Linked DNA regions of Homo sapiens: regions 2, 3 and 4 are each linked to region 1. The links are contacts of gene promoters, found by promoter capture Hi-C in blood cells and fetal thymus (Javierre and others, 2016). All regions are on one chromosome and are shown on one strand. The core of a region is centred on a gene start or on the middle of the fragment in contact, and the rest is flanking DNA. Distances in the headings are between cores, read along the strand shown. Region 1 holds the start of TYK2 (tyrosine kinase 2). Region 2 overlaps OLFM2 (olfactomedin 2). Region 3 holds the start of ANGPTL6 (angiopoietin like 6). Region 4 holds the start of EIF3G (eukaryotic translation initiation factor 3 subunit G).

The links. The method cuts DNA at HindIII sites, captures the fragments that hold promoters and counts their contacts. A CHiCAGO score of 5 or more calls a contact.
Region 2: a fragment that was not itself captured here is called in contact with the fragment with the promoter of TYK2 in region 1 in 1 of 17 cell types (total CD8 T cells); the score reaches 5.0 in total CD8 T cells.
Region 3: the fragment with the promoter of ANGPTL6 here is called in contact with the fragment with the promoter of TYK2 in region 1 in 1 of 17 cell types (neutrophils); the score reaches 5.2 in neutrophils.
Region 4: a contact is called between the fragment with the promoter of EIF3G here and the fragment with the promoter of TYK2 in region 1, in 6 of 17 cell types (erythroblasts, monocytes, endothelial precursors and 3 more). The highest score is 7.4, in erythroblasts.

What each region holds. Positions count from the first base shown.
Region 1 is chr19:10,377,032-10,383,333 of GRCh38, reverse strand. It overlaps TYK2 (tyrosine kinase 2), which reads left to right and starts at 2,762. Exons shown (of 25, transcript NM_003331.5): 1 at 2,762-2,954; 2 at 3,555-3,719; 3 at 4,908-5,120. The coding sequence starts at 4,928. RefSeq lists enhancers at 2,133-2,796, 2,705-2,864. The HindIII fragment of the contact is 15,548 bases long and covers 1-6,302 here.
Region 2 is chr19:9,872,176-9,878,477 of GRCh38, reverse strand. All of the region lies in intron 1 of OLFM2 (olfactomedin 2), which reads left to right. Among named protein-coding and RNA genes, the nearest start is that of PIN1, 40 kb to the right of the region's middle. The HindIII fragment of the contact is 304 bases long and covers 3,056-3,359 here.
Region 3 is chr19:10,097,693-10,103,994 of GRCh38, reverse strand. It overlaps ANGPTL6 (angiopoietin like 6), which reads left to right and starts at 1,317. Exons shown (of 6, transcript NM_031917.3): 1 at 1,317-1,427. RefSeq lists enhancers at 1,138-1,187, 1,258-1,307 and a silencer at 4,723-4,772. The HindIII fragment of the contact is 11,381 bases long and covers 1-6,302 here.
Region 4 is chr19:10,118,649-10,124,950 of GRCh38, reverse strand. EIF3G (eukaryotic translation initiation factor 3 subunit G) reads left to right here and starts at 5,052. Exons shown (of 11, transcript NM_003755.5): 1 at 5,052-5,111; 2 at 5,251-5,297; 3 at 5,780-5,863; 4 at 5,995-6,083; 5 at 6,224-6,283. The coding sequence starts at 5,092. RefSeq lists enhancers at 4,794-5,549, 5,550-6,302. The HindIII fragment of the contact is 4,736 bases long and covers 2,647-6,302 here.

The sequences.
Region 1 (6,302 bases), core at 1,513-4,012:
TACAAAAATTAGCCAGGCGTGGTGGTGCACGCCTGTAATCCCAGCTACCGGGGATGCTGACGCAGGAGAATTGCTTGAACCTGAGAGGCAGAGGTTGCAGTGAGCCAAGATTGCGCCACTGCACTCCAGCCTGGGCAACAGAGCAAGACTCTGTCTCTTTAAAAAAAAAAAAAAAGAAAGAAACTTCCCATGAAATGTCAGGTTGCAATAAGGACTCTGAAGAAAATACAGCAGAGCCCAGGAGGTCAAGTTGCCCAGGCTGGAGTGCAGTGGTGTGATCACGGCTCACTGTAGCCTCAACCTCCTGGGCTCAAGCAATCCTCCCACCTCAGCCTTCGGAGTAGCTGGGACTAACTAATTTTTTTTCCCCCCGAGATGGAGTCTCACTCTGTAGCCCAAGCTGGAGTGCAGTGGTGGGATCTCAGCCCACTGCAACCTCCACCTCCTGGGCTCAAGCGATTCTCATACTTCAGCCTTAGACTAATTTTTTTTATTTTGGGTAGAGATGGGGTCTTGCTATATTGCCCAGGTTGGTCTTGAACTGGGCCCAGACAGTACTCCTTCTTTAGCTCCCTGAAGTGCTAGGTTTATAGGGATGAGCCACTGCATCCAGCCAGGACAAGTCTCTATCAGCATTTTATTTTATTTTATTTTATTTTATTTTTGAGACAGAGTCTCACTCTGGCGCCCAGGCTGGAGTGCAGTGGCGCAATCTCGGCTCACTGCAAGCTCCGCCTCCCCGGTTCACGCCATTCTCCTGCCTCAGGCTGCCACTACGCCCAGCTAATTGTTTGTATTTTTAGTAGAGACGGGGTTTCACCGCCTTAGCCAGGATGGTCTCGATTTCCTGACCTCATGATCCGCCCACCTCGGCCTCCCAAAGTGCTGGGATTACAGGCGTGAGCCACTGTGCCCGGCCTCTATCAGCATTTTCTTTCTTTTTCTTTTTCTTTTTTTTTTTTTGAGACAGAGTTTAGCTCTTGTTGCCCAGGCTGAAGGGCAATGGTGTGATCTCGGCTCACTGCAACTTCTGCCTCCCAAGTTCAAGCGATTCTCCTGCCTCAGCCTCCTGAATAGCTGGGATTACAGGTGCCCACCACCATGCCCAGCTAATTTTTGCATTTTTAGTAGAGACAGGGTTTCACCATGTTGGCCAGTCTGGTCTTGAACTCCTGACCTCAGGTGATCCGCCCGCCTCCACCTCCCAAAGTGCTGGGATTACAGGTGTGAAAGAGACCATTCCCGATCTCTTTCAGCATTTTCATACTGAATGTCCACAGCTGCCCTGTGAGGAGGCTTTTTACCCATATTTTCTGACTCAGAGAGAAGCAGCCACATGTCCCTTGGCCATGGCAGTTAAGACCAACTCCATGGAGCTGGGTGTCTTAGCTCACATCTGTAATCCCAGCACTTTGGAAAGCCAAGGCAGGATGATTGCTTGAGGCCAGAAGTTCAAGACCAGCCTGGGCAACATAGCCAGACCCCATCTCTACAAAAATTTAAAAATTAGCCACAAAATTTAAAAATTAACAACAAAAGGGCCGGGTGCGGTGGCTCACGCCTGTAATCCCAGCGCTTTGGGAGGGTGGATCACGAGGTCAGGAGTTCGAGACCAGCCTGGCCAAGATGGTGAAATCCCATCTCTACTAAAAATACAAAAATTAGCCGGGCGTGGTGGCGGGCGCCTGTTGTCCCAGCTACCCAGGAGGCTGAGGCAGGAGAATCGCTTGAATCCGGGAGTCTGAGGTTGCAGTGAGCCGAGATCGCAGCATTGCACTCCAGCCTGGGCGACAAGAGCGAAACTCCATCTTAAAAAAAAAAAAAAAAAAAAGTGGAAGATGAGGAAGTTGATCAGACATCAAGGATGAGCGGATGACTTAATAGGCTTCTTTGCTAAGACTTGGCTGGGCAGGTGAAAGACAAAGTCGAGGAGTGGTTATGGTGTGGCACAGAAGAAGGGTCAGAGGACGGTCTTTGTTACCTCTTCATGCCTGAGTTTCTTCCTCTGTGAAATGGGGATAATAAGAGCCGCCATACAGGGAATTGCTGCTAGGATCAAATGAGATAATGTATGTGAAACGCTCTGGCTGTAGGCTTCTCAGCAAATGGGCACGACTTGCGGAGTGGGGATTTGAATTCACGTCTGGCGGGATGTCCAAGCTGCTACCCTGACCGCTAGGGAGCTTCAGAGGACAGGGCTGCAGGTGATCAGGAAGAGGACTGGGGCAGGTGGGCGAGGAATGCCTCCCAGGAGTGAAGGAGGGGGAATTCTAGTCAGCAGGATGGAGTCGGCCAGGTAGAAACGAGGGAAAGGAGACAGGACCGGATGGAACGGGGAAGCCAAAGGGCAGGGCGTCGGAGGGTTGAATGGTGGCCGGTGCAGCTTTGAACACCGAGGTGAGGACATGCAGCTGTGTCCTAGGGTCAGGACCGTACACGCCTGACCCAATTCCACAGCACGGAGGGGAACTCCAGGATCCGGCCGCGTTGCCCACACACTTCGCTCTCCCTCCCGCCTCTCGCAAGCCCCTCCCCCGTCTCCGTCCACCGAGTGCCAGCCAATAGCAGAAGCGACAGCGCATCTGGGTGCCGACTCAGCCAATCGCGGCTGAGTGACGAATGAGCCCCAGGACCAATGAGAGTGCCGCCACCATGGCAAAAAAAAAAAAATCCAATGGTGACGAGCAGGGAGAACAGAGCAGCTGCCAATGGGCGTGTGCGTTTCAGGCGGCCAATGGGAGGAGGCGTCTCGGCGGGGGACAAGCAGTAGCTACCCGCGGGAGCGGGGAGGGGTCCGGGTTCGAGCTTGTGTTCCCCCGGAAGGGTGAGTCTGGACGCGGGCGCGGAAGGAGCGCGGCCGGAGGTCCTCAGGAAGAAGCCGCGGGGACTGGCTGCGCTTGACAGGCTGCACTTGGATGGGAGCACCTGGTGCCTCGGGACTGCTCCGATGCCCGGTGGGTGCACATCCCAGTTCCCGCCGTTGCCGGCCGGGTTTAGAGGTTTTGGGGGGAGGACATGGGGGCGTGCAGCCTTCCCAGTTGCAAACTTCACTCCGACCCTGTCTTCAAAGCTGGGTCTGGGTCCAGTGGGGACGAGAAAGGAGGAAGGAGGAAGTAGGCTCCGCGAAAGCCCCATCCCCGGGATCTCATCTATAACATGAATAGGTATTAATGGCAAAGGCTAATTAAGCGCTTACTGTATACCAGGCACTTTCTCTGCCTCCTCGCGTTAAATCCTCCCAGCAGCCTTTTGAGGTAGACACTGTTACATGCCCATTTTCCAGATGAGGAAACCAGCAACATGGGTGGAAGTGACAGCCCCTCCACTTCCATACTGGCGCCCTCAGGAGGCTCAGGCCCTGGATTGGGGGGATGGAGCTGGACATAAACTCTCCTAGGCTTTGGGGAGTCAACAGGGACTGAGGTCACTCATGGGGGTAAATGTGGGAGAGGAGAATTGTGGCCTGAAAGAGGCCATCACCACGATGAAACTAATAACAATTATGTTATTCTTGTTTTGGTCATATTTGTTCTTTTTGTGTGTGCCTGAATCAGGGTCTGTGCTGAATGTGTAATATGCGGAACTATATTGAAACATTACAACCATCTTTTGATGGCAACACCCTGAGGACCTCCCTTTTCCAGATGGGGAAACTGAGGCCCAGAATTGCTAAGTGGCTTGCTTGAGTTGACACAGGGAGCTCCAGGACTCACCCTCAGGTATGTTTGACCACATCTGCCTGTCTGGTTATTTTGGGGAGGTGTGTTAAGAGCAGATTTTTATTTTACTTTTTATTTATTTATTTATTTATTTATTTATTTATTTATTGTATTTTAGTAGAGATGGGGTTTCACCATGTTGGTCAAGATGGTCTCAATCTCCAGACCTCGTGATCTGTCCGCCTTGGCCTCCCAAAGTGCTGGGATTACAGTCATGAGCCACCGCGCCTGGCCCTTTTTATATATTTTTATTACTTATTTATTTATTTATTTATTTATATTTTTAGAGTCAGGGTCTCACTCTGTCACCCAGGCTGGAATGCAGTGGTGCGATCACTGCTCACTGCAGCCTCCAACTCCTGGGCTCAGGAGATCCTCCCACTTCAGCCTCCCGAGTAGCTTGGAGTACAGATGTGCACCCCCACGCCTGGCTAAATTTTAAAAATTTCTTGTAGAGGCCGGGCACAGTGGCTCACGCCTGTAATCCCAGCACTTTGGGAGGCCGAGGCGGGTGGATCACCTGAGGTCAGAGGTTCAAGACCAGCCTGGCCAACATGGCAAAACCCTGTCTCTACTAAAAATACAAAAATTAGCCCGGTGTGGTGGCAGGCGCCAGCTACTCAGGAGGCTGAGGCAGGAGAATCACTTAAACCCAGGAGGCAGAGGTTGTGGTGAGCAAGATTGTACCATTGCACTCCAGCCTGGGCAACAAGAGTGAAACTCTGTCTCAAAAATAAGATAAGATAAGATAAGATAAGATAAGATAAGATAAGATAAGATATAAAATAAAACGTCTTGTAGAAACAGGGTCTTGCTATATGGCCTAGGCTGGTCTCGAGCTCCTGGGCTCAAGCAATCCTCTTGCCTCAACATCCCAAAGTCCTGGGATTAGAGGCGTGAGCCACTGTACCTGGCCAGAGCAGATTTTTATATCTGTGTCAATTTGTGGAAAGAGAGGAGGGTTCAGTGTTATTGTTGATGAGAGATCTAGGTGGGGATGCATACCCCAACCCTGTCCAATAAATGTGGAAAACGAGACTCAGAGAGGGAATCGGGTCTCTAATGTCATGCCAAGATGGGAGCCCAGAATCTTCCCCTCAGGCCTTAGCTGGGGTGGGTGGAAGGTTGAAGAGCTAACAGGGGTCTCTGGGCTGAGACTTGGGAGCTGACAGATTGTCCCCTTTCCAGCTGAGCCACCTGCCGGGAGCATGCCTCTGCGCCACTGGGGGATGGCCAGGGGCAGTAAGCCCGTTGGGGATGGAGCCCAGCCCATGGCTGCCATGGGAGGCCTGAAGGTGCTTCTGCACTGGGCTGGTCCAGGCGGCGGGGAGCCCTGGGTCACTTTCAGTGAGTCATCGCTGACAGCTGAGGAAGTCTGCATCCACATTGCACATAAAGTTGGTGAGTCTGGGGCGTTGGCACCATGGGGACTGGGGTGGGTGTGCAAGCAGCAGCTGGGCCCCATCCATCCGTCTATCCACCCACCCACCCATCCACCCACCCATCCACCCACTCATCCATCCATCCATCCATCCACCCATCCACCCACCCATCCACCCTCCCAACCACCCATCCATCCACCCACCCACCCATCCATCCACCCATGCATCCATCCATCCTCCCATCCACCCATCCACCCACCCATTCACCCACCCATTCACCCATCCACCCACCCTTTCACCCATCCACCCATCCACCCATTCATCCACCCACCCACCCACCCATCCATCCACCCACGCATCCATCCACCCACCCACCCACCCATCCATCCACCCACGCATCCATCCATACATCCACCCACCCACTCATCCATCCACCCACCTATCCACCTATCCATCCACCTACTCACCCACCCATCCACCCACCTATCCACCCACCCACCCATCCACCCATCCATCCACCCACCCATTCATCCATCTATCCATCCATCCACCCATCGATCCATCCATACCCACCCATTCATCCATCCACCCATCCATCCACCCACCCATCCACCCATCCATCCACCCATCCATCCATTCATCCATCCATCCATCCACCCACCCACCCATCCATCCACCCACCCACCCATCCATCCATCCATCCATCCACCCACCCACTCACCCACTCACCCACCTATCCATGCATCCATCCATCCACCCACCCATCCATCCTCCCACCCATTCATCCATCTATCCATCCATCCATCCATCCATCCATCCATCCATCCATCCACCCACCCACCCACCTATTCATCCATCTATCCATCCATCCATCCATCCATCCATCCATCCATCCATCCATCCATCCACCCGTTCATTCGGTGAACATTTTGTAAGCATCTACTGTGTGGCAGCTGCAAATCACTGCCTTTGTAGAGCTGAAATTTTAGTAGGGAGGACAGCAAGAAATATAATAAATCAGAAAACTTGGCCAGGTGCAGTAGCTGACACTTGTAATCCCAGTACTTGAGGAGGCCCAGGCAGGAGGATTGCTTGAGGCCAGTAGTTGGAGACCAGCCTGGGCAACATAGGGAGACCTTGTCTCAACAAAATAATTTTTAGAAATTAGCCAGGCATGGTGGTACATGCCTGTAGTCCCAGC
Region 2 (6,302 bases), core at 1,958-4,457, 510 kb after region 1:
GTGGAGGCTGCAGTGAGCTGAGATTGTGCCATTGCACTCCAGCCCGGGTGACAAGAGTGAAACTCCATCTCAAAAAAAAAAAAAAAAAAAAAAAAAGAGAGAAATGAAACTGAGGCTCAGAGAGAGTCACTTGTCCAGGGTAACACAGAGCCAAGATTGAAGCTCAGATGGTCCAGCCCACCTTTCTGTGTTCCCAGTCAGCACCGATTTGCTTATTTTTATTCCATAGGCAATTCTGTCACACTCCCTTGAATATCACGTTGCGTATGTGTCCCGGCCTGTTTGCTGTTACTATAACAGACTACCACAGATTGGGTAATTTATAAAGGGCTGGGTGTGGTGGCTCACGCCTGTAATCCGAGCACCTAGGCAGCCAAGGTGGAAGGGTTGCTTGAGCCCAGGAGTTCAAGACCCACCTGGGCAATGTGGCCAGACCCCATGACTACACAGATTTTTTAAATTAGCCAGATGTGGTGGCACGTGTGTAGTCCCAGCTACTCAGGAGGCTAAGGCAGGGGGATCGACTGAGCCTGGAATGTTGAGACTGTGATGAGTCAGGATCGCATCATTGCACTCCAGCCTGGGCAACAGAACCAGACCTCATCTGTAAAATAATCAATTAATTAATCTTTCTTAAAAAAAAAAATTTATTTTTCCAGTTCTGGAGACTGGGAAGTCCAAGGGCATAGCACCAGCCTCTGGCAAAGGTTATCCCATGGCCAAAGGGCTGAAGGCAAAAGTGACACAGAGAGAGGAAATTGGACCAAAATCATTCTTGTTGTCAATAGCCCACTGCCATGATAACTAACCCACTTCCCTGATAATGGCATTAATTCACCTAACCTCATCTTTAAAGGTGCTACCTCTCAACACTGTTACTTTTTTTATTTTTATTTTATTGTATTTATTTATTTATTTATTTATTTATTTATTTATTTATTTTTGAGACAGAGTTTCTCTCTTGTTGCCCAGGCTGGAGTGCAATGGCACAATCTTGGCTCACCGCAACCTCCGCCTCCCGAGTTCCAGCCATTCTCCTGCCTCGGCCTACAGAGTAGCTGGGATTACAGGCATGTGCCACCACGCCTGGCTAATTTTGTATTTTTAGTAGAGACGGGGTTTCTCCATGTTGGTCAGGCTGGTCTTGAACTCCTGACCTCAGGTGATCTGCCCGCCTCAGCCTCCCAAAGTGCTGGGATTACAGGTGTGAGCCACCGCACCTGGCCATATTTTTTTTTTTTTTTTTTTGAGATGGAGTCTCACTCTGTCGCCAAGGCTGGAGTGCAGTGGCACCATCTCGGCTCATCGCAACCTTCACCTACCTGGTTCAAGCGATTCTCATCCCTCAGCCTCCCGAGTAGCTGGGATTACAGGCGCCCGCCATCATGCCCAGCTAAATTTTGTATTTTTACTAGAGGCAGGATTTCACCATGTTGGCCAGGCTGGTCTCGAACTCCTGGCCTTAAGTGATCTGCCCCCCTTGACCTCCCAAAGTGTTGGGATTACAGGTGTGAGCCACCGCACCCAGCCTCTGAAGTAGCTATTCTTCTGTTTCTTTACTTCTCTAATAAACTTGCTTTCACTTTAAATAAATAAATAAATAAAATGGATTACGTTTCCAACACATGAATTTTGCGGGGACACATTCAAACCATAACATTACGTTAAGCCATTCTGATATATTAACAACCACCTCATGACATCAGTACTATTCTTAGCTATATACTCTAACTGGGGGAACGGAGGCACAGGATGGTTAAGTCAGTAGCCCAAGGTCACACGGCAGACCTGAGGCTCGAACCTAGGAGACCCTTAATGACCACGTCCTCCCACCTCCACTGGGGGAATTGAATGCATTTGAGACTCATTTCTTTGAAACCCTGGAATGTGTGTTGGAGGTGTAGCCAAGGGATAAAGGGTTTGGACCCAGAGTGGACTTGCCACCCGCAGGGGCGCATGGGGACCTAGCAGGAAAGAGCCCTTGGAGGTGGGTTTTCAGGAGTCCTGGTACCTGGCTGTCTGTTATTGGCAGGTTGATCAATGTCACCTCCTGGCTGTGCTGTCCAGCCTTCGAGGCCTCCCTCCAGCCGCTGCCTGGGGGACTCGCAGCAAACACTTCCATTTTGTATAGGGGTGTCCCTGGCTATCGGTGTGAAATGCCTCAGCCAGCCATGGAAGTTAAATGTCCCCCATGGCGACCTTTTCCACACGCGGACGGATTGATTTCAGAAATCCATCCCCGGCCAAAGCGCCCAGCCCCAGCCCCTACCACGGGCGCTGATGGCTGCAAATTTATATCCAGGCCAGAAATTGAATTCCTGTAAGTTGAAGGAACTATCTGAAAAGCTCACCCAGGCTCATTTTTACGTCTGAAAAACTTCAGGCAAGAGATTAAATTGGGGCCAGTGTCTCCCAGCAGTAGGGACCTCGGTGGCGGGGAGATGACCTCGCTGAAGACAGCTTCTTTAGATTCTCTGCCTTCAGCTTGGCCTCCTGGGGCTGAGAAATAAAAAGCAGTGAGACCTGCAGGCCTGCATGGCTAAAGGGATTCCCACTTCTGACCAGCTAATGTTAGAAAAGGGACATGCTCTGTGTACCCAAGGCAGGCTTTTGGTCCCCGTGGTAGCTATTGAGCTATTCAGAGGGACAGGAAATAAAACTGCTAATTCAGGCCAGGTGCAGTGGCTCATACCTGTAATCCCAGCACCTTGGGGAGGCCGAGGTGGGAGGATTGCTTGAGCTCAGGAGTTTGAGACAGGGCGATACCCTGTCTCTGTGAGAAAAAACAAACAAAAAACAAAAGAAAAACAACAACAACAAACAACCAGATGTGCTGGTAAGTGCCTGTGGTCCCAGCTACCCGGGAGGCTGAGGTGGGAGGATCACCTGAGCCAGGGAAGTCGAAGCTGCAGTGAGTCGTGATCGTGCCACTGCACTCCAGCCTGTCTCAAAAAAAAAAAAAAGCTGCTAATTCATCTTCATCCCCGGCCAGGCCCCTGCACCAGCTCCTAAGGCCACCTCAGTCCCAGCAAATTGGCGAGGTTCTAATTAAGCTTCCTTGGGCTGTGGCAGAGAGGACATCAGAGTCTGTGGATCATTCCAGAACCCTCGCTCTTCCCTGCCCCCTGCCAGAGGCATGAAGGCTGGGGAAGGAGAAGCAGATAAATCAAGTGACAGCTCCGTGAAGGAAGAAACCCCATCTTGCTAGAAAGATCTCTCTCGCCTGCCTTGAAAAAATGAGACTGATGCAAATGCGGCTGCTTCTCTTTGGTACAAAAGCCCTTAAATATTAAAGAAATGAATCCTTGATGTCTACAAAGAAAGGATCAAAAACAAATCTTTCTGAAAGGAGAAAAGCTTTTATTTCGCCGTGAACTCTTCTAGATCTAGCCTCTGGCAGGGATGCCTGCGGAACAGGGAGCACAGGAAGATAAAGCTCTCAGTGATGGCCATTCAATATTTGTTCATTTAGGAAGCGTCTGAAGCAGCTACTGCATTGGGTTACAGGCTGGGGAAACGTCCAGCAAAGTGAGGCCACAGTTCCTGCCCTCAAAAGCCATTAGGGGACGGGTGCAGTGTCTCATGCCTGTAATCCCAGCACTTTGTGAGGCCGAGGCAGGAGGATTACTTGAGCTCAGGAGTTCAAGACCAGTCTGGGCAACACAGCAAGACCTTGTCTCTAAAAAATAAAATAAAAGACTGGGTGCGGTGGCTCATGCCTGTAATCCCAGCACTTTGGGAGGCCAGGGTGGGTGGATCACTTGAGGTCAGCAATTTGAGACCAGCCTGGCCAACATGGTGAAACCCCATCTCTACTAAAAATAGAAAAGTTAGCCAGGCATGGTGGTGCACACCTGTAGTCCCAGCTACTTGGGAGGCTGAGGCAGGAGAATCGCTTGAACCCAGGAGGTAGAGGTTGCAGTGAGCCGAGATGGCTCCACTGCACCCCAGCCTGGGCGACAGAGGGAGACTCTATCTCAAAAATAAATAAATAAAATAAAAGCCGGTGGTGGCTGGGCATGATGGCTTATGTCTGTAATGCCACCACTTTGGGAGGCTTAGGTGGGAGGGTCACTTAAGGTCAGGAGTTTGAGTCTAGCCTGGGCAACATAGTGAGACCCCCATCTCTCTTAAAAAAAAAAAAAAAAAGGCCAGTGGGGCATTCTCCAAAACTCCCTGGCCAGTAATCCTCAAAACTGTCAAGGTCAGAAAAAACAAGACAGAAACGTCATAGACCAGATAAGTCTAAAGACATGTGATAACCACTGAGTGTAACGTGGGATCCTGCATTAGATTCTGGAACAGAAAAAGCACTCAAGTGGGAAAACTGGGGAATTTGAATAAAGTCTAGAGTTTAGTTAATAGTAATGGATGCACGGATGTTGATTTCTTAGTTGTGACAAGTGTATCATGGTTATGTAAGATGTAATAACAGGGAAGTCAGGATGAGAGGTACACAGGAGCTCTCTGTATTATTGTTGTAACTTTTCTGTAAACCTAAAATAATTCCAAAAGTAAAAGTTGATTAGGTAGGCATGGTGGCCCACACCTGTAATTTCAGCGCTTTGGGAGACCAAGATGGGAAGATCGCTTGAGGTCAGGAGTTCGAGACTAGCTTGGGAAACATAGTGAGATCCTGTCTCTACAAAAAAAAAAAAAAAAAAAAAAAAAAAAAAAAAAATTAGCTGGGCATGATAGTGTACATCGGTAGTCCCAGCTACTTGGGAGGCTAAGGTGGGAGGATTGCTCGAGTCTGGGAGGTTGAGGCTGCAGTGAGCCATGATCACACCAATGTGGGACACGGCCTGGGGGACAGAGCAAGACCCTATCTCAAAACAAAAATAAAAATAAAAAAAGTATCAGGGTGTGGTGGCACACACCTGTGGTCTCAGCTACTCCGGAGGCTGAAGCAAGAGAACTGCTTGAGCCTAGGAGGCTGAAGATGCAGTGAGCTATGATCATGCCCCTGCACTCCAGCCTGGACAACTGCTTGAGACCCTGTCTCTTAAAAAACCAAAAATGTTGGCCAGGTGTGATGGCTCACGCCTGTAAACACAATACTCTGGGAGGCTGAGGCAGGTGGATCCCTTCAACCCAGGAGTTCAAGACCAGCCTGGGCAACATGGTGAAACCCCGTCTCTACAAAAAATACAAAAATTAGCCTGGCGTGGTGGTGTGCACCTGTAGTCCCAGCTACTCAGGGAGCTGAAATGAGAGGATGGCTTGAGCCTGGGAGGTGGAGGTTGCAGTGAGCAGTGATCGCGCCGTGATTACACCACTGCACTCCAGCCTGCGCGGCAGAGTGAGACCCTGAAGGAAGTGACTCTTGTCCTCCCAGCATAGTGGCTGAGAGTCTGATAGGCTGGCATCCAAATCCCAGCTCTGTGAATTTGGGTAACTTGACTTTTCTCTGTATCTCAGTTTTCCCATCTGTAGAATGGAGCTAGTGTTAGTACCTACCATGAGATGGGGCTCTAAGGATTGAATTTTGGTAATATTTGTAAAGCAACTAAGAAGAGCGAGCTCTACAAGTGTTAAGTAAAATATGAAATTCAGAATGGGAGTAGAGCTTGGGGAGGGATGGATGGACAGATGAATGAATGGATGGATGGATAGATGGATGGATGTATATAAATGGATGGTTGGATGAATGAATACGAGTGAATGGATGAATGAATGAATGGGTAAACAGATAAATGGATGAGCAGATGAATGAATGGATGGATAGATGGATAGATGGTTGGTTTTATGAATGAATGGATAGATGGATGAATGGGTGGAAAGGTGAATGAATGGATGGATGAATGAATATGTGGATTCACAATCACTTTCTATCCTGACCCCTCCCCGACCCACAAGGCTCTTCCAGGCAAAACCCCAGTTCTCAGGCTGAGGGAGGCCCCAGGCGGTTCCCAGGCTTCCAGCATGGCGCGGGTGAACTAATATTTTTTTTTTTTTCTTTTGAGACAGGGTCTCGCTCTGTCACCCAGGTTGGAGTGCAGTGGCGTGATCTCGGCTCACTGCAACCTCTGCCTCCCAGGCTCAGGCGATCCTCCCACCTCAGCCTTCTGAGTAGCTGGGACCACAGGCTCGTGCCACCATGCCTGGCTAAATTATTTTGTATTTTTGGTAGAGACAGGGTCTTACCATATTGCCCAGGCTGGTCCCGAACTCCTAAGCTCAAGCCATCTGCCTGCCTTGGCCTCCCGAAGTGCTGGGAATGCAAGCATGAGCCACAGCGCCTGGCTGATATCTTCTTTAAGGCCTGTCAAGCTTATCACTCAGGGGATATTTGCCCAATA
Region 3 (6,302 bases), core at 68-2,567, 280 kb after region 1:
CAGCCTCCTGAGTAGCTGGGATTACAGGCATGGGCCACCACACCCGGCAAATTTTTGTATTTTTAGTAGAGACGGGGTTTCACCATCTTGGCCAGGCTGGTCTCGAATTGCTGACCTCGTGATCTGCCCACCTTGGCCTCCCAAAGTGCTGGGATTACAGGCGTGAGCCACCGCGCCCAGCCTTACATTTTTATTTCTAATTATAAAATCCAGATTAATCCAAAAAACATAAATCACATGTAACTGAGGTAGGGTTTTCACTTTAAGAATATATTGTTTCTATCACAATTTAAAAATTTACAGCTGTGTCTTTTATATTTATTTTTTATTTTAATTAATTAATTCCTCACTTTATTATTATTTATTTATTATTTATTTATTTATTTATTTATTTATTTTTGAGATGGAATTTCAGTCTTGTCGCCCAGGCTGGAGTGCATGCGGTTGCTCGATCTCGGCTTACTGCAACCTCCACCTCCTGGCTTCAAGCAATTCTCCTGCCTCAGCCTCCCGCGTAGCTGGGATTACTGGCGCATGCCACCATGCCCAGCTAATTTTTGTATTGTTAGTAGAGACGGGGTTTTAGCATGTTGGCAAGGATGGTTTCGAACTCCTGACCTCAGGTAATCCACCTGCCCCGGCCTCCCAAAGTGCTGGCTTTCAGGCATGAGCCACTGCACCCAGACTTTCGCTGGGTGTTAATGTGTGCGTGCGTGCAAATGTGTGTGTGTGTGTTTGTGTCCACTCTGTTATGTGCCCATATGTGTGTGACAGCTGTGGTGTACATGTGTGAGTTTCTGAGTCAAGCTACCTTGGCTGGCTCCCATCCTGGTCTCTTTTTGGCTGTGTGACCGCAGGCAAGTTGCTTACCCTCTCTGAGCCTCAGTTTTCCCTGCTGTAAAATGAGGGTACATACAGAATCCAGCTCAGGTTGTAAGGATCAAATACGTAAAAGGTGTGGAGAGTTTAGAGCCAAGCCCTACACACGGTAAGTCCCCAGTGATGTTCCTCTTTCTATGTGTGGTGTGTGCGTGTCTGGGGCTGGGATCACGCCTGGCTGCCCCAGGGCCTGCAGCCTCCCACGCTCTGGGCTCTGCAGTGGAGGGTGTGGGGGAAAGGGAGGGATGTCCAGGACACTGACCTGTGTTATCAGGCTCTGGTGGCCTGGGCAGGGGGGTCTGGCAATTCTGTCTCATTTCTCATTCGGGAAATGCTAAATATTTATAGTTTGGGCTCCTGGGCCCAGCATCCCAGCTCCACTCCCAGGCTCTGGGGGCTGGGGAGTGGTTACCAAGCCTCCTCTCTCCTTCTGTCCCACTGCCCTCTCCCCGTCTCTAGCTCAGAGGCCCCACTGGACCCTCGGCTCTTCCTTGGACTTCTTGTGTGTTCTGTGAGCTTCGCTGGATTCAGGGTCTTGGGCATCAGAGGTGAGAGGGTGGGAAGGTAGGTGGAGGTTGATTCTCACTGTGGGGAAACTCCGACCACAGCTTGGCTTGGGGGCCCCCAGGCCACCCCGCCACCCCAGGCTGAGAGTGTAAAAGGCAGCGGGTGTTATACACACGTCCCAGTTCTGGGGGGTTGCTCAATCTCTGTTGTGGGGGGTGGGGCATGTCAGTGATCGGGGACAAAGAGAGGACCCTACCCCCGGATCCTTGTGAGCCCCTGCTTGGTGTCTGAGTCCAGAAGTAAATGTGGCCATCTCCAGCCCAGAACCCTCCATGGCTCCTGCCTGACTCAGAGTAAAACCCAAGTCCTCCTCCGGGCCCACAGGACCCTTCACACTTTGCCCTGACACTTCTTACCTCCTCCTGCTTCCCCCTTCTCTCTTCCGGCCTCATAGACATTTCTGCCATTTCTTTTTTTTTTTTTTTTTTTTTTTGAGACAGAGTCTCGCTCTGTCACCCAGGCTGGAGTGCAGTGGCGCGATCTCAGCTCACTGCAAGCTCCGCCTTCCGGGTTCACGCCATTCTCCTGCCTCAGTCTCTGGAGTGGCTGGGGCTACAGGCGCTCGCCACCATGCCCGGCTAATTTTTTTTTTTTTTTTTGTATTTTTAGTAGAGACGGAATTTCACTGTGTTAGCCAGGATGGTCTCGATCTCCTGACCCCGTGATCCACCTGCCTTGGCCTCCCAAGTGCTGGGATTACAGGCGTGAGCCACCGCACCTGGCCTTTTTTTTTTTTTTTTTTTTGAGCCTTGCTCTGTCGCCCAGGTTGGAGTGCAATGGCGCAATCTCTGCTCACTGCAACATCGGCCTCCTGAGTTCAAGTGACTCTCCCACCTCAGCCTCCTGAGTAGTAGCTGGGATTACAGGCATGCATTACCATGCCCAGCTAATTTTTGTATTTTTAGTAGAGACGGGGTTTCACCATGTTGGCCAGGCTGGTCTTGAACTCTCGACCTCAGGTGATCCTCCCGCCTCGGCCTCCCAAAGTGCTGGGATTACAGGCGTGAGCCACCGTGCCTGGCCCCTTTCTGCCATTTCTTGGGTGCAATCTCCGGGCCTTTGCACCTGCTGTTCTCTCTGCCTGGAATGCTCTTCCTCTTCTCTCTCTTCCATCAGGTCTTTGTGAAAGTGTCCCTTATTCTTTATTTTATTTTTATTTTTATATTTAGTAGAAATGGACTTTCACCATATTGGCCAGGCTGGTCTCAAACTCCTAGGCTCAAGCAATCCTCCTGCCTTGGCCTCCCAAAGTGCTGAAATTACAGGCATGAGGCACTGTTCCAGTCAAGTGTCACTTCTTCTGTGAGGCCTTTCCTGACTCCTCTATTTTATTTTTTTTTGAGACAGAGTCTCGCTCTATTGCCCAGGCTGGAGTGCAGTGGTGCAATCATGGCTCACTGCAACCTCTGCCTTCCGGGTTCAAGTGATTCTTGTGTCTCAGCCTCCTGAGTAGCTGAGACTACAGGCGCGTGCCACTACGCCTGGCTAATTTTTGTATTTTCAGTAGAGACAGGGTTTCGCCACGTTAGCCAAGCTGGTCTCAAACTCCTGGCCTCAAGTGATCCTCCCACCTCAGCCTCCCAAAGTGCTGGGATTACAGGCACCTCGGCCTCCCAAAGTGCTGGGATTACAGGCACCTCGGCCTCCCAAAGTGCTGGGATTACAGGCGTGAGTCAGCACACCCAGTCCTGACTCCTCTATTAAATGTCCCCCACCTCCGGGACTGTCACCCCCTTGCCTGTTCCATTTTTCTCCTAAGCACGATTACCCTCTGACCTACCTAGCGGCTGTTTGACTTATTTCTCTGTTCTCCCAACTTGAATGTCAGCTCTGCAAGGGCAGGAATTTTGTCTGTTTGGGTTAAGGCTGTGTCCTCATTGCCTAAAACAGCATCCCTGGCACACAATAGGCACTCAAGGTGTCTGTGGTTGAATGCATGAATGAGGCAATGTGTGTGTGAGATGGAGACCCTCGGGATATGTGCTTGTGCAGGCATCAGGAAGCATAGGTTTAGGGCCAGTGTGGTTGCTCACATCTGTAATTTCAGCACTTTGGGAGTCCAAGGTGGGAGGATCACTTGAGCCTGGGAGTTTGAGACTAGCCTGGGCAACACAGTGAGACCCCCTCCCTACAAAAAAGTAGCTGGGCATGGTGGTGCGCACCTGTAGTTCCAACCACTCAGGAGGCTGAGGCAGGAGGACCACTTGTGTGCAGGAATTGGAGGCTACAGTGAGCTATGATTGCTCCACTGCACTCCAGCCTGGGCAACAGAGCACGACTCTCTCTTTTTTTTCTTTTTTTTTGAGATGGAGTCTCACCCAGGTTGCCTAGGCTAGAAGGCAGTGGTGCGGTCTCAGCTCACTGCAACCTCTGCCAGGTTCAAGCCGTTCTTCTGCCTCAGCCTCCCGAGTAGCTGGGATTACAGGCATGCGCCACCACGCCCAGCTAATTTTTTGTACTTTTAGTAGAGACGGGATTTCACCTGTTGATCAGGCACCCTGTCTCTACTAAAAATACAAAAATTAGCTGGGTGTGGTGGCGCATGCCTGTAATCCCAGCTTCTTGGGAGGCTGAGGCACAAGAATCACTTGAACCCGGGAGGTGGAGGTTGCAGTGAGCTGAGATTGCAGAGCGAGACTCCGTCTAAAAAAAAAAAAAAGAGGGCGTGGGGGAGAGAGAGAGAGAGAGAGAGAGAAAGAGAGAAAGAGAGAGAGAGAGAGGGAGAGACAGAGAGAGAGAGAGCTTGTATATGGAGGTACAACCCTAAATCTGCTGTTCAAGGAGCGCTGCTGAGACTTGAATAAGGATAGGAAGGGAATGATGTTAAGTTGTGAACAATGTTCCAGGCTGCAAAAACAGCAGGTACAAAGGACCTGAGGCTGGAACTTGCTTCGTGTGAGGAAGGGCCTGGGAGGAGGGCAGAAGGGGATATGGCAGATAGCACAAGTTTTTTTTTTTTTTTTTTTTTTTTTGAGATGGAGTCTTGCTCTGTTGCCCAGGCTAGAGTGCAGTGGCACAGTCTCGGCTCACTGCAAGCTCTGCCTCCCGGGTTCAAGCCATTCTCCTGCCTCAGCCTCCCGAGTAGCTGGGACTACAGGCAGCCGCCACCACGCCTGGCTACTTTTTTTGTATTTTCAGTAGAGACGGGGTTTCACTGTGTTAGCCAGGATGGTCTCGATCTCCTGACCTCGTGATCCGCCCGCCTCCGCCTCCCAAAGTGCTGGGATTACAGGCGTGAGTCACCAAGATAGCGCAACTTTTTATGGATCATGGGTGGATTTGGGCTTTTCCTCTAAAGGAGGTGGGAGCCAAGAAGGATTCAGGGCAGAGGAGGGAGGGAGGGACGTGAACTGACTCAGATGTTCACAGGCGCCCTCTGGCTGCTGTCAGAGAGACTAGACCTGGGGTTGAGGATGGAAATCCAGAGAGCAGGGAGGCAGCTGCTGTCATCCAGATGGTGTCTTGAGCTGGGAATTCAGGGAGGGTCTGGGGGCAGTGGGGAGTAGCGGAGACGTGGAGGAATTCAGGATCTAAGCAGAAGAGCAGACGGGTCTGGCTGATGGATTAGATCTGCTGAGATGGGTTGGATCTGCTGGGGTTTTGGTCTGAGGACGTGGAAGATGGGGTTTCCAATATCCGACGGATGGGAAGGCAGTTAGTGAGACGTTTCCCTCACCCCACCTCACCTCCTTGCACCCTGCTCCCTTTGCTATTTTTTTTTTTTGAGACAGTGTTTTGCTTTTGTTGTCCAGGCTGGAGTGCGGTGGTGCGATCTCGGCTCACTGCAACCTCCACCTCCCAGGTTCAAGTGATTCTCCTGCCTCAGCCTCCCAAGTAGCTGAGATTTCAGGCCTGTACCACCACACCCGGCTAATTTTGCACTTTCAGTAGAGATGGGGTTTCACTATGTTGGTCATGCTAGTCTCGAATTCCTGACCTCAGGTGATCCACCCACCTTGGCCTCCCAAACTGCTGGGATTACAGACATGAGCCACAGCACCCAGCCTCCCTTCGCTTTTGCTTTAACCTCTCCCAGGTTGCTTTAATACATCAGGCAGGGTCCAGTCTCAGAGCTTTTGCACTTAGATCTGCTCCTCCACCAGGCCTTCCCTTTAGGCAACCCCCTCTCAAGCTGCCCCTGCACAGACCTGCGTATTCTTTACCTAGTTTGCTGTTTTTTGTTATTGTTTTGTTTTAAGAGACAGGGTTTGCTCTCGTCCCCAGGCTGGAGTGCAATGCTGCGATCATAGCTCACTGCAGCTTCAAACTCCTGGCCTCAATCGATCCTCCCGCCTCTGCCTCCCAAAGAGCTGGGATTACAGGTGTGAGCCACTGAGCCCAGATTTACAAAATAGTTTAAAAATTAGCAGGGCATGGTGGGTCACACCTGTAATCTCAGCATTTTGGGAGGCAGAGGTGGATCACTTGAGGCCAGGGGAGACCAGCCTAGGCAACATAGCAAGACCCTGACTATACAGAAAATTTAAACATTAGCCAGATGTGGTTCTGTGCACTTGCAGTTCCTTTTTTTTTTTTTTTTTTTGGTAGAGACAGGGTCTGGATACGTTGCCCAGTCTGGAGTCTGGTCTTGAATTCCTGGCCTCAAGCAGTCTTCCCGCCTTAACACAGGCCTGAGCCGCCTCACCAGTCCTACTGTTATTTTTATATTTATTATTTTATTTTATTTTATTTTTTTGAGATGGAGTCTCGCTCAGTCACCCAGGCTGGGCTGCAGTGGCACAATCTCGGCTCACCGCAAGCTCTGCCTCCCAGGTTCACGCCATTCTCCTGCCTCAGCCTCCCAAGTAGCTGGGACTACAAGTGCCCGCCACCACGCCCAGCTAACTTTTTGTATT
Region 4 (6,302 bases), core at 3,803-6,302, 260 kb after region 1:
GTGGCACATGCCTGTAGACCCAGCTACTCGGGAGGCTGAGGCAGGAGAATCACTGGAACCCAGGAGGTGGAGGTTGCCATTAGCTGAGATTGCACCACTGCACTCCAGCCTGGACTACAGAGTGAGACTTCACCTTTAAAAAAAATAATTAAAAAAAAAAAGTTTAAATGAGGTCATTAGGGTGGGCCCTAATCCAATATGACTGATGTCCTTAGAAGAAGAGATTGGGACATAGACACACACAGAGGAGGCCACGTGAGGACCGAGGGAGAAGGTGCCCCCACCTCAGAAGAAACCAACCCTGCCGACACTGTGATCTTGGACTTCCAGCCTCCAGAACTGAGAAAATAAATGTGTGCTGTTTAAGCCTCCTAGTCTGTGATATTTTGTTGTGAAAATGTGAGAAAAAGTAACTAATGTTAAGCTGGGTTTGCTCAATTCTGCTTTCCAGCGTAATTTCACAAAGCCCCTGACTCTGAGACACGTGAGACACGTCTGCGCAGCTCTACAGAACAAGGCTTTGAAGACAAAACAGGACAGAGCACAGGGCACACCATGTCCCTTGCCCGAGTCACTATATTCCTTAAATGAGTCTGGGCACGGTGGTTCATGCCTGTGATCCCAGCATTTTGGGAGACCAGGGCAAGGGCATCACCTTAGCCTGGGGAGGTTGAGGCTGCAGTGAGCTGTGATCGTGCCACTGCACTCCAGCCTGGGTGACAGAGAAAGACCCTGTCTCAAAAAAAAAAAAAAAAAAAAAAAGGCGTGCCAGGTGCGGTGGCTCATGCCTGTAATCCCAGCACTTTGGGAGGCCCAGGCAGGCGGATCACCTGAGGTCGGGAGTTCGAGACTACCCTGACCAATATGGAGAAACCCCCGTCTCTACTAAAAATACAAAATTAGCCGGGTGTGGTGGTGTGCATGCCTGTAATCCCAGCTACTCAGGAGGCTGAGGCGGGAGAACCGCTTGAACCCAGGAGGCGGAGGTTGCAGTGAGCTGAGATCGCACCACTGCACTCCAGCCTGGGCAATAGAGCAAGACTCCGTCCCCCAAAAAAAAAAGAAAAAAGAAAAAAAGGACCTGGGCCGGGCACGGGTGGGTCACACCTGTAATCCCAGCACTTTGGGAGGCCAAGGTGGGCGGATCACAAGGTCGGGAGATCAAGACCATCCTGGCTAACACGGTGAAACCCCATCTCGACTAAACATACAAAAATTAGCTGGGCGTGGTGGCGGGTGCCTGTAGTCCCAGCTACTCAGGAGGCTGAGGCAGGAGAATGGCGTGAACCCAGGAGGCGGAGCTTGCAGTGAGCCGAGATTGTGCCACTGCCCTCCAGCCTGGGCAACAGAGTGAGACTCCATCTCAAAAAAAAAAAAAAAAAAAAGGACCTGGTTCAAACCTTTTCCTACACATAAAATAACATCTAATGGGGTCAGGGTATTATGCTTCTGTAATCTATAACCAGATGTACTCTTGCACCCAAACCTTGATGTGGCTCACACCTGTGTAATCCCAGCACTTGGCTCATGGCAGCCTCACCTCCTGGGCTCCAGCGATTCTCCTGCCTCAGCCTCCTGAGTAGCTGGGATTACAGACATGCACCAACATGCTCAGGTAATTTTTGTATTTTTAATAGAGATGGGTTTTCACCACGTTTTCCAGGCTGGTCTTGATCTCCTGACCTCAGGTCATCTGCCTGCCTTGGCCTCCCAAAGTGCTGGGATTACAGACGTGAGCCACTGTGCTCAGCCTCTTTCTTTTTTAGAGACAGGGTTTTTGCTCTGTCACCCAGGCCAGAGTGTAATGGCACAATCATAGCTCACTGCAGCCTTGACCTCCTGGGCTCAAGCAATCCTCCTACCTCAGCCTCCCAGGTAGCTGGGACTACAGGCGTGCATTACCACACCCAGCAATTTTTTGTGTGTAGTGATGGGGTCTCAATGATGTTGCCTAGTCTGGTCTTGAACTCCTGGGCTCAAGAAATCTTTCTGCCTTGGCCTCCAAAACTGCTGGGATTATAGGCACGAACCACAGTGCCCAGCCAAGAAATATATTTATATGTTACATCTCACATATATTACATAAATGCATATTATATATTAATACATGTCCAAAAATAATATTTCCTTTCTTGGTGCCTTCTTTCCAAAGCATTCCTCATTAACAGGTTCTGATTCTTTCTTTCCAGGAAATGATTTGCATATATCTGCATATCTATGTGCTGTTGAAGATTTACACAAATTGGTTCCTGTAATATATGCCATTTTATATATCGCTTCCTCTTTTTTTTTTTTTTTTTTTTGAGATGGAGTCTTGCTCTGTCGCCCAGGCTGGAGTGCAATGGCGATTCTCCTGCCTCAGCCTCCCAAGTAGCTGGGATTACAGGCACCCACCACCATGGCCAGATTTTTTTTTTTTTTTTTTTGTATTTTTAGTAGAGACGGCATCTCACCATGTTGGCCAGGGGCTGGTCTTGAACTCCTAACCTCAGGTGATCCACCCACCTCGGCCTCCCGATTACAGGTGCCCAGCCTGTTTCCCTATAACATCTTTACTACCACGGGGTGATATCGAATTTTTGAAGCTTTGCCCAATCTGCTGGGTTGTTTGGATTTTGTGTTGCTCAGAGTACATTTGAGTAAGCTTGTAAAAATGTTTATCAGTCCTTTGGACCAGCTTCATATTTTCACCAATATAGCCAGGCCACCCTCCTGAAAGGCCACAGCGGCGTGCCTCTCTTTCCTGCTCTCCAGCTAATGTTTTCCCTTCCACTTGGCTCTCTACAGGCTTCTAGAATAATTTTTTCCACAAGAAAAGTTGGTGATATTCCAAACACTTGAGTGGCCTCCTCACTCACAACTCAGAGGATAAAAAAGCATAAACTTTTTTTTCCTGTCTTCTTATTTATTTTTCTCAGGGCATTCTCCCTTACAAGTTATTTTTTGTTTTGTTGCGTGTGTGTGTGTGCGTGTGTGTGTTTTTGAGACAGGGTCTCTCTCTGTTACCCAGGCTGAAGTACAGTCGCATGATCATGGCTCAACCTCCTGGGCTGAAGCTGTTCTCCCACCTCAGCCTCCTGAGTATCTGGGACTACAGGCACACAGAACTATGCCCAGCTGATTAAAAAAAAAAAATTTTTTTAAGGGCCGGGCGCAGTGGCTCACACCTGTAATCCCAGCACCTTGGGAGGCCGAGGTGGGCCCCCGTCTCTACTAAACCGTCTACTAAAAACACAAAAATTAGCACGGCGTGGTGGTGGTCATCTGTAATCCCAGCTACTCGGGAGGCTGAGGCAGGAGAATCACTAGAACCCGGAAGGCAGAGGTTGCAGTGAGCCGCGATTGCGCCGCTGCACTCCAGCCTGGGCGACAGAGTGAGACTCCATCTCAAAAAAAAAAAAAAAAGTTGTTTTTTAGAGATGGGGGGTCTCACTATGTGTTGCCCAGGCTGGTCGAATTCCAGGGCTGAAGTGATCCTTCTGCCTCAGTCTCCCAAAGTTCTGGGATTACAGGCGCGGGCCACCACACCCAGCTAATTTTTGTATTTTTAGTAAAGACGGGGTTTCGCCATATTGCCCAGGCTGGTCTCGAACTCCTGACTTCAAGAGATCTGCCCATCTTGGCCTCTCAAAGTGCTGGGATTACAGGCGTGAGCCACTGCGTCCGACATTGTCAAACGTTTTTTGTTCATTATCACCCTTCTTAGGAGAAAACCCGAATTATCCTAAAATTGAATTTACATCAACTAAATTAATTTCAATTTAATTACATTTAATATCTCCCTAAAGGCAGAAACTAAATACTTAGGGATAAATGCTGTCTGATAGAGCTGGCTTTGGAAGACCACAATATCTAAGATTTTTTTCCTCCCTGAGGACCAGTTTTTTCCCCTGGGGAGTCATCATGAATCACTTCGACTGAGGACGGTTGTGCTTAGAGCAAGGAGCTGAGCAATAAACAAGTAAATGCACAAAATTATACCGGAAAGCCAAGAATGCTACAAAGAAAAGAAGAGGGAGTGGCTGAGGGGAGGCCACTTGGCATCTGAATCATTGGGATCGGGAAAGAAGACAAGGAACAGTTTAAGCAAAAGGATTGTTTTCCCCGAACTTTGGTTTCTTTTTTCTTTCTTTTTCTTTTTTTCTTTTTTAGAGACAGGGGTCTCACTATGTTGCCCAGGCTTGTCTCAAACTCCTGGCCTCAAGCCATCCCCACGCCTTGGTCTCCCAAAGTGCGGGATTACAGGCAGGCGCCACTGCACCCAGTCTGAGCCTCAGTTTCTTCAGCTGTAAAATGGAAGTAATATCCTCCTCACCATGCTTCATATACAATAAGCACTCAATAAGTGAGCTTTATGATTATTATTATTTATTTTAATTTTACTTATTTTTCTGAGACGGAGTCTCACTCTGCAGCCCCAGGCTGGAGTGCAGTGGTGCGATCTCGGCTCACTGCAGCCTCCGCCTCCTGGGTTCAAGCGATTCTCCCGCCTCAGCCTCCCGAGTAGCTGGGATTACAGGTGCCCACCACCACGCCTGGCTAATTTTTTTTTTTTTTTTTTTTTTGAGACGGTGTCTCGCTCTGTCGCCAGGCTGGAGTGCAGTGGCGCGATCTCGGCTCACTGCAACCTCCGCCTCCCGGGTTCAAGCGATTCTCCTGCCTCAGCCTCCCGAGTAGCTGGAACTGCAGGCACGCACTACCACGCCCAGTTAATTTTTGTGTTTTTAGTAGTGACGGGGTTTCGCCACGTTGGCCAAGCTGGTCTCGAACTCCTTACCTCAGGTGATCCGCCCGCCTCGACCTCCCAAAGTGCGAGGATTACAGGCTTGAGCCACCTCGCCTGGCCTATTTTAATTTTAAAGGTTAATAGGACCAGCCCTGAAATCAGCCTCTGCCCCCGCTGGCCCTACTCTGGTACCAGCAGCGCCCAGTAGCATACACAGCCGCGTGCGCCTCCACCTCCGTCCGCAGGTGTCGCTGTGGGTGCCGCGGCTGGGCCCCTCTAGGCGGCGACGGCGGCACCGGAAGTCTCGTTTTCGCCCGCTTCCGCTCTCTGGCCGGGCTTGGGCTGCGTGGAGAATACTTTTTGCGATGCCTACTGGAGACTTTGAGTGAGTCGGCGATCGCGGAAAGGGGCACGGGAAGCGGTTGGGGTGCTCTGGGAAGTATTATGGGGCCTGGGTACGCCGAGGCTGCGGGAGCCGGGCCTGGCTGACTTAATCTTCGTTCCCCACACATTTGTTTCCGCAGTTCGAAGCCCAGTTGGGCCGACCAGGTGGAGGAGGAGGGGGAGGACGGTAAGTGTACACGGTCGCCCGGGGTATTCGCGGCCAGGCCCAAGCCGTGTGACTGCCGCCTGCTTCCATCTCCCAGTCTGGCACCGTGTACCCCGTCACGGTCTGCCCCTGCCCCGCGCCATCCTCCTTGGGACCCGCCTGTTGCCAACTCCAGGTGTTCCCCGGCGGGTCCCTCTTCCTCCCATGCCACTGCCTCCCAGCTGTTCCCCTCCAGGGAGGAAGTTGTAATCTCCCGTCTCCTGTTTCTCTACTGGCGCCTGGTTGGCTTCATGGCCTGGCACCCACCTTCCTACGAGGGATCTCCCATCCTTGCCACTCCGAGTCCCCACAGGGCCATCCCAGTGCGTTGCCTGGCCAGCCCTCTGCCCTTGGCCTGCCTTTCTCCGCTTTTGCTGTAGGCGTCATCCCAAAAGCCCTTCCATCGCAGCTGGGGAGCTCCTGCCCCTGGAGCTGACTCCTCCTTCCTACGCTGCCTTTTGCAGACAAATGTGTCACCAGCGAGCTCCTCAAGGGGATCCCTCTGGCCACAGGTGACACCAGCCCAGAGCCAGAGCTACTGCCGGGAGGTGAGTGAGGACTGCCGGGAGGTGAGTGAGGACTGCCACTCGGTGTCCGGGCTGCCTCTCCCTCCAGCCCTGCCGCTCCTGATCCCCATGACCCAGGGCTCAGTCTTTCTCTGTTTTTCCCCTTCTGCCAGCTCCACTGCCGCCTCCCAAGGAGGTCATCAACGGAAACATAAAGACAGTGACAGAGTACAAGATAGATGAGGATGGCAAGAAGTTCAAGGTGAGGGTGGGGGGTGCAGGGAGTGGGGACCCTTGTGCTTGGGGGCCCATAGACCGGAATGGGGTGGGGTGTGTTGAGGAGGTTGATAAAGGAGATCCCTTGGTCCCAGGAGCCTGACCCTTCTCCCCTCCCATCCTCAGATTGTCCGCACCTTCAGGATTGAGACCCGGAAGGCTTCAAAGGCTGTCGCAAGGAGGAAGGTGAGGCTCTTCTTCCCCA